Linked DNA regions of Homo sapiens: regions 1 and 3 are each linked to region 2. Evidence: promoter capture Hi-C in human tissues and cell types (Jung and others, 2019). All regions are on one chromosome and are shown on one strand. The core of a region is centred on a gene start or on the middle of the fragment in contact, and the rest is flanking DNA. Distances in the headings are between cores, read along the strand shown. Region 1 overlaps SRP14-DT (SRP14 divergent transcript). Region 2 holds the start of PLCB2 (phospholipase C beta 2). Region 3 overlaps GPR176 (G protein-coupled receptor 176).

What was found. Contacts are between HindIII fragments. The study calls those that stand out against the background at their distance.
Region 1: a fragment that was not itself captured here is called in contact with the fragment with the promoter of PLCB2 in region 2 in 2 of the 25 tissues and cell types used here (lymphoblastoid cells and mesenchymal stem cells).
Region 3: a contact is called between a fragment that was not itself captured here and the fragment with the promoter of PLCB2 in region 2, in 1 of the 25 tissues and cell types used here (lymphoblastoid cells).

What each region holds. Positions count from the first base shown.
Region 1 is chr15:40,049,111-40,051,810 of GRCh38, forward strand. All of the region lies in intron 2 of SRP14-DT (SRP14 divergent transcript), which reads left to right. Among named protein-coding and RNA genes, the nearest start is that of SRP14-DT, 11 kb to the left of the region's middle. The HindIII fragment of the contact is 7,633 bases long and covers 1-2,700 here.
Region 2 is chr15:40,306,662-40,309,361 of GRCh38, forward strand. PLCB2 (phospholipase C beta 2) reads right to left here and starts at 1,274. Exons shown (of 32, transcript NM_004573.3): 1 at 928-1,274. The coding sequence starts at 1,011. The HindIII fragment of the contact is 11,638 bases long and covers 1-2,700 here.
Region 3 is chr15:39,888,350-39,891,049 of GRCh38, forward strand. The region is part of intron 1 of GPR176 (G protein-coupled receptor 176); the gene reads right to left. Among named protein-coding and RNA genes, the nearest start is that of GPR176, 31 kb to the right of the region's middle. The HindIII fragment of the contact is 5,143 bases long and covers 1-2,700 here.

The DNA of each region.
Region 1 (2,700 bases), core at 110-2,609, 260 kb before region 2:
TCATCCTGGAACTTCCAACAATGTCTCCAAAAATAGTACCTAAACTCCAGGCCTCAAACTCTAAATTGAGTGGGGATGTGAAGTGGTTGTGGCCTTACAGAAACAGCACTGGAGTGGCAGCCGAAGTGCTGAGTTCTAATCTGAATTCTGCCACTCATTGGCGTGGGACCTTGGACAAGTCACTTTTTGCCGGACTTGAGTTTCTTCCTCTGTAACTTGGGGAGTTGGGATTGAGCTGTAAAGTCCCTTCCAGTTTTAAATGTGAGACTCCAATGCTGTCAGGTAACTTTGGGATTGCTGTAATGACTGTTTGGGGGCTAGTATAGCTGGGAAAGAAATTAGGATGAGAATCCAATTGAGGGCAAGATAAAATGGAATTGTATTCTATTCAGAACTTGAAATAGGATGGGATTTTGTTTTCCCCAGATCCTCACCATAAAGAGATTTGGGAGAAAATCTTGGGAGATTTGGACTCAGAATATCTTAAGAGGTAGTATTCTAGAAGATTGCCCAACACTTGGTGGGGAAGAGCAAGAATTCTTCCAGATTGCTTGACAAGCAGAACATGGGGAGTGGGTCACAGTAATACCAGGAAAGACACATCCCATCCTCCCAACCCTCTTTTCCACTGAAGCTGCTCCTTACAATTCCTGTAACTGGGGACCAGGCCTTTCATTCCAGTTACAGCTAAAACTTAACATGGCCATTTAAATTTCCCTGAGGGTATAAATGGCTAATATTCTCTCCTTCTAAGACCCAGCATATGCTGAGAGAGGCCTTCAGAGGAGGTGGGGGCTGGAAGAAGGAGTGAAGGTGGAGGCCCAAAGATCACGCAGGAGCCATGCTTTTTCTGAAGCCAGATCTAGGCCTAGCAACTCAGAGCAGTTCCCCGTGGGCAGTGATGTGGAAGAAGGCCCTGGGCTTCCTAAGTGCCTCTAGGTCACTTTGTGAAACCTCTCACATGGGCCTGCCTGGGAGGAGGAGCCCAGTGTAGCCCCCACCTGTCTGCTGCCTGCTCATCTTCCAGGGTGTTGAGGGGATGGGTAGCATGGCTGTCTGCCCCCACCAATTACCCACATGGCTTGGGTCAACCAGACTCTGTCAGAGCTGTTGAAGGAGACATAAACCTAGGCTTTTGGAGGCAGCTTCAGGGAAAGGTGGAGTGTGTGAGGTGGAAGGTGGGTGAGAAAGTGTGCAAGGGGGAACACACTGTTCTCTACTGGCCCTTTGCCAAACAGCAAGGGAGAGAGGAGTAACAAGGCCAGACTATGGCCATGTTTAGTGGTTTTCAACTGCGGCCCAAAATGAGGCAGACATAGGCTAGGCATGGTCTAGCCCTTGTGTGTGTGTGTGTGTGTGTGTGTGTGTGTGTGTGTGTGTAGGGGGAGTGTGAGGAAGTTGTGAGGGTGTGTGGTGTGTGGGGGAGTGGTGTGTGTGGGGGGTGTGGTGTGTGTGAGGAGTGTGTGGTGTGTGGGGGATTGTGGTGTGCGGGGGCGGTGGTGTGTGTGGTGTGGGGTGTGGTGTGTGCGTCTGTGTGGTTGTGTGTGGTGTGTGGGGAGGTGTCATGTGGCATGTGTGGGGGGTTGTGTGTGTGTGAGGAGTGTGTAGTGTGGGGGGGGTTTGTGTGTGCATGGTGTGTGTGCGCGTGTGAGGGGGTGTGGTATGCATGGGCAGTGGTGTATGTGGTGTGTGGGGGGTGTGGTGTGTGGGGGTGTGTGGTGCGGTGTGGGTGTGTGTGTGTAAGGAGGTAGTGTGTGTGGATGTGTGTAGGGGGTGTGGGGTGATGGTGCGTGTGTGGTATGGGGGGTGTGGTGTGTGTGTCTGGAGTGGGGAGTGTGTGGTGTGTGGGGAGGGTGGGGATGTGTGTGTGGAGTGTGGGGGTGTGTGGTGTGTGTGTGGAGTGTGGTGTGTGGGGAGGGGGCGGGTGTTGGCCTGGGTGAGCCCTGGCAATCGCAGCAGAGAAGATGCCAAAATTTTGTATTTACTGTCAGGGCAATGATGCTGGAACTGCAGATCCAGCGCCCCGAAACCCGGCCCATCCCAAGACACTGCTTCTCACAGCCAACAGAGGAAGGAGGGAGGGGGAGAGGCCTGAAGCCGAGGCTTCTTCTTGAGGAATGCTCGCCAGGCCAGCAGCCTTCCTCACTTCAATGCAGCCTTCCCCTTCTATCCACCGATGAGCATTTAGCGGGCAACTCCTTTGTCCAGGGCAAGCCTTCCCCAGGTCTCTCTCTTCAAAAGCAGATGCTACCTAGTGGGAGGTGCGGAGTTATACATGCAAGAAAGGGCTACAGGACAGCATCACTAGTACCAAGCTGTGAAGGAGGTGGACTTTGAAGGGAAGAAAGAATTTAGAAAAACAGACTAGTGGACTAGTTACTGCGGGGAGCAGAGTGCCATTTCAGGCAGGAGAAGGAGTGTGATGTGAATCTTAGGGAAGAGTCCTCTTTGTATGTTCTGACAACTATTCTCTGACACCAACGGGGCATCCTGCAATTGGATTCAGTGTCAATTCTGACACTGACTACCTGCAGTTAGTGCCTGTGATATTGTGAAACAGGTATTAATTAGGTCTTCATTCCTGACATACAACTCCTAAAATCCTTGGAATCTCCTAAGTTTTAAGTGTCTTTTTGCACGCTAAGCACCTAGGTAGCTTCAAGATGGGAGCTGGCCGCCAGAAAGATCAAGACAGGGTTA
Region 2 (2,700 bases), core at 24-2,523:
AAGGGCCTAGACCCAGACCCCCTCATCCCACCTCCCATCAGGTGGACAAGTCAGCACTAAGGGCTGTCTTCCCTCCCCCACCAAGCCTTCATTTCCCTTCCTGGGACAAGCCCAGCACTCTAACTCTCAGACTGGGCGAGCCCAGCAGCCTCCCCTCCCTGAAGGAGAATCTCCATATTGTTCTCTCCAGCCTAAGAGAATCCCTGGCCTAAGGTAACATTTTCAGGGGCCAGGAGAACCAGAGCCTGGGAGCAGCCCCGTGTAGGAAGGAACAGACACAGCAGAGAGAGGGCTGCAGGGTGCAGCAGTGTCTTCCCCTTCCCTTGCTGACAGGCCTGCATCGGGGAGCAATGCTGAGCCCAGCAAGGGGTAGCAGAAGTCAAATCAGCTCCTTCCCTGGGAGCAGAAGCCTCTAGTTCTCACTTAGGTCCAGGGGCCTTTTGTGGCTGCCCCCACAGCAGCGCAGGGGAGAGCAAGGCTTCCCTGGACAGGATGATGCCCAGTGGAGGGGGTGAAGGAGCTGGGTCTGAGCGCCCTGCCGGAGCAAGGGCAAGACATCTGTGCTGGGAGCGGGGACGAGCTCACCTCTCCTCCTAGCCTGCCTCAGCTCTGGGGTGCACTTTCCTCCTCTTCTCTTGGGGGTTTGAAGGAGAAGAGAAGCAGACCCAAATAAACTACCTCCAGTGACCACCCAGGCAGCTCACCCACTTCTCACACCTAGAACCAAGGCTTAGCCCTTTAGCTGGGGACATACACCCTTAATCCCAGGTTTGTTTATCCAAGCAGTGGTGTCAGCTGCCTGGCCAAACCACACAGGCGCCTGGATCCTAGGAGACATAAACCAATCCTCCCACCCAAGCAAAGCCCCGTAGCAGCCCGGCCCCCACCACCTGGTGCTCCAGCAGCTGAGGCCCCTGCCCCACTTACATCATCCCATTTGATGAAGCGCTCCCCTTGGCTCAGATAGGCCTTCACCTTGGGGGGCAGCAGGACAGGGTTGAGCAGAGACATGGTGCCAAGCGTTCCTCTTTGCAGAATCTCAGCAGACACAGGCAGGCAGAAGGGCAGGAAGGAGGCCAGCCAGGAGGGGGAGCCAAGCTGGGCTCAAATGGCACCCATCCCCGAGCTGCTCCAGAAATCTAGTTGCTCTTATAGCCCCTGGGGTGGCCCTGGCTGAGTGCAGGACTGAGCTGTAGCCAGAGGCCCATCTGCCTTGTAAATCACCCTCCTCCCACCCGCCCTGCCTGCCATGGGGGCCTGTGGTCACTGCTTCTGCCCAAGGAGGCTGAAGCAGGAAGCCCCCGCCTCTTCTGGAGGCCCCCGCCCCCACCCCCAGCCCCACCCTGTGCCTCTCAGCACTTCCTGCTCTGGGCTTCCTTCTCTGCGCTGCTCACAGCGGAGACGTGGTCATGAGGCCGGGTCGCCTTGGAGCCAGGGCCTCTCAGTCCCTGTGGTGGTCTCTGGTCAGATTTGGCCCAGGAGGGCTGGAGAAGGACGACATGGAGACCAGCTGGGGAGACTGCTGCCCAGGCCTGGACTGAGGGAAGGCACAGGGAGCTCACTAGGAGAAAGGACCTCCTCAGGGGAAGGGTCCAGAGCATGGGCATCTGACCCCAAAGGTTGGGAGCACCGTAGAGGCAGGGGTGGGGTGGGGACAGGGCCCAGCTGGAATGGAGTGTTTTGAATAAGCAAAGTTTGCTGAACACACGGCTCCTCTTTCTCAATGCTTCCTCCCCCATGAAAATGAGGTGCACCTGCCGGGCGGGCGGGTGCGGTGGCTCACGCCTGTAATCCTAGCACTTTGGGAGGCCGAGGCGGGCGGATCACGAGGTCAGGAGATCGAGACCATCCTGGCTAACACGGTGAAACCCTGTCTCTACTAAAAATGCAAAAAATTAGCTGGGCGTGGCAGCGGCGCCTGTAGTCCCAGCTACTCGGGAGGCTGAGGCAGGAGAATGGCATGAACCCAGGAGGCGGAGCTTGCAATGAGCCGAGATGGCGCCACTGCACTCCAGCCTGGGCGACAGAGCAAGACTCCATCTCGAAAAAAATAAAAAAAGAAAGAAAATGAGGGGCACATGAGGCAAGGCAATCACTCCCCTCACCCACCTCACCAGACTCCCACCTCTGGGCCTCTGGGACTGCCTGAGGCCTGGACCCCCACTGAGCAGCCCTAGCCCCTGCCTCCACTGCGCTCTCCTCTCTCCTCCGTGTGCCCGCCTCTGCTGTGTACCCCAGCCTGCAGCGGGGCTGGGGCGGAGGGATGGCTGCTCTGGTTGGCCAGGCTCAGCCCCAGCTGCTCAGGTGCCTGACCCACACTCTGCCCCAGGCCCAGGGAGTTCAGCACCAGTCCAGCTCAGCCCAGCCCACTTCCTCTTGCCTAATCTGCTCCTCTTATCGCCCTTCTTAGCCCAGCCTGGGAGGCAGGGAGCTCTACCCAAGACTTCCTTCCCCTCTGGGGCCTGGCCTTTTGCCCTGGGTCACCCCCCCATGGGGCTTTGCATACCCCCAACAACGGTAAGACCCTCACCCAGGCCCTAGAATTGTCGCGGCTGGAGGTCTGGTCCAGGGCAGGGTGGAGGGTGAGGGAGGACACTCTTCATGCGGAATTAAGATAATAAACTGCCCAGTGGAGGCTGGAGCTAAGGGAATTCCCAGCACAGAAATAATCTGCAGAAGAGCAATTCTAGGGCCGGGGGA
Region 3 (2,700 bases), core at 92-2,591, 420 kb before region 2:
ATCATAGCTCTCTGTATCCTTAAACTCCTGGGCTCAAGCAATCCTCTCACCTCAGTCCCCCAAGCAGCTAGGACTACAGGCACAGGCCATCACACTTGGCTAAGACTCTTGCTCTGTTGCCCAAGCTGTAGTGCCATGCTGTGATCATAACTCACCATAACCTCAAACTCCTGGCCTCAACTGATCCTCCTGCCTTGGACTTCCAAAGTGCTGGGATTACATGTTTGAGCCACCTTGCCCAGCTTATTCTTCTCCTCTTAATCTACCTTTTGTTACAAGGGTCCCAGCCCAGAATTCAGAAAGGTAAAGAGAACATTTTTTTTCTTCCCCTACAATGTGTAAATCATCTTTCTCTCCAGAGTTCTACCATCAGAGTAGCCTCATCAATCCCTTTCCTACCCATCTTGAGGATATGAACCTTCCCGATTCTTAGACACAATTTCCATTTCCAGAAGCTTATCCACTCCATAAGCTTCTAGCTGTGATAACTTTTAATGAGACAGGTAATTGTTTGCGATAAACAGTCACCTCCTCTGGGTTAGTTAGGGGACTGGAACTCCCAGCAAGACTCTTATCATCCCTGCTCTCCAATTTTCCCCCTTGAGGCACCAGCTATTTAAAAAGGAATCCAGGAAGGACAAAGGCTGATCACCAGAGATTACGTTAGAACCTTATCAGCCTGGAGAGGGCATCAGAGAATCTACACAACAAACTTTCTAACTAAGCTTTATCTACCATGAGTTTCCCATGTAAGATAAGCCAGTGCTCCTGACATTGCAAGGTTTAGATCTCTGTGACTCCAAGATGGAGACAATTCAGAGAGCAATTCTACCTCCTCCTCCATAATCCCTGCTTTACAACTAGGAAAACTAAAATAGGCCCATGCTATTTCCTTCATTTAATAAATTAAAGTATTGGCCGGCCACAGTGGTTTACGCCTGTAATCCCAACACTTTGGGAGGCTGAGGTGGGTGGATCACCTGAGGTTGGAAATTCGAGACCAGCCTGACTAACATGGAGAAACTTCATCTCTACTAAAAATATAAAAATAGCCAGGCATGGTGGCGCACACCTGTAATCCCAGCTACTTGGGGGAATGAGGCAGGAGAATCACTTGAACCCAGGAGGTGGAGGTTGCAGTGAGCTGAGATTGTGCCATTGCACTCCAGCCTGGGCAATAACAGCAAAATTCCATCTCAAAAATAAAATAAAATAAAATAAAATAAAATAAAATAAAATAAAATAAAATAAAATAAAATAAAACAAAACAAAACATTAAAGTGTTATGGGACCTTGACTCTAACTGTCCCAAATATGAGAACGCTAGGGTCCCAAGGAGGTGAAATTGCAAGTTTGTGAATACCTTCACTGGGACGCAAACTCCTTGGAGGTAAGGACTTTGTTTGGTTCCCTACTATATCCCTAGTACCTAGAGCAATGCTTGGCACATGGCAGGTGCTTAGTAAATATTTGTAGAATGAATGTATGCACAAAAGAAAACACAGAGAAAAGCTAGTCTCAGCATCTCCATAGCCTCTCTAAGCGCCAGATCTAAGGCACATCCCCTCAATTCTCCATCTACCCAAGGCCTATTGCAGAGGTGTTTTAGAGCCTATGTCCATATATCTGCCCAACTCCACTTCAGTGAGGTCACACTGGGAGTTTGAATGATGATATTTTCATCATGGCCAATTTCAAAATGATGAAAATTTTGATCATCATTTTCAATATGATGATATGAAAATATCACCACGCCTGGCTTTTTTTAGAGCCTACGAAAATCACAAACCACTACAAATTTGGGTTTTCTTAGAGAGAGCCTGATGTTAAACATTTACCAGCACACCACTGCCCTTAAGACTTACAATGTCTCTTTTCTGTGAACATAAAGGCAGGAAAAAATTAAGCTCAGCAAGTGCCAACTTATTTTGTAAAAATACCTATTCACACTAATTTTCTAATTCGGGTTTTTTGCAGGTCACTATAGAAGAGATTGCACTGAAAACTGAAGGGACTCCTTTGTGAGGACATTTCCCATTTGCCAAAAGTTACAGTTTATGAAACTTAACAGACCAAGGACAAAGATCTCAAAACAGAGGTGAATGGAAGGCTGAGGAGATACGCCTTAGGCGCAGACCACTGGGAAAGTATGGAGATTCTGAGAGTGGCCCTTTGAAATTGAGTAGTATAGAATCATATACTTTGATTTTGACTGTAAATTATACTTTTTATTTTATTTTTAAACAGGTTTGTGGCATTTATTATGTGCCAAGCTCTATTTGCTTAGCAAATATTCATTCATTCTAGCTACAAATACCACACACACACAAGTGTTCAATATCACCCAGACAAAGGAACCCTTACTGACTCCTATCCTTTTGCCCATGACAAAACAGAAACATAAATCTTCTCACCATCAGAGCCCAGTTAATGGCTCTGGGCCTGGTAATGGTAAGAAACCTGAGCTGGAGCTGAGGTCCACCAGACCATGGATGAGTTGGGCTTGGGCTTGACTAGGCTTCCATAAGGCCATATACTAAATTTGGCACCCTGGTATATATCCCTTCAAATTTATAATTGTAGAGTTTAATGGAGTAAGACAGAACCCAAGGGGGAGGTAGCAGTGTTGCCTTGGGCCTCTTTTTGAAGAGGTAGAGAAGAATAGATGAGCAAAACCTCTTAAATCTTTTTAGCTATGTA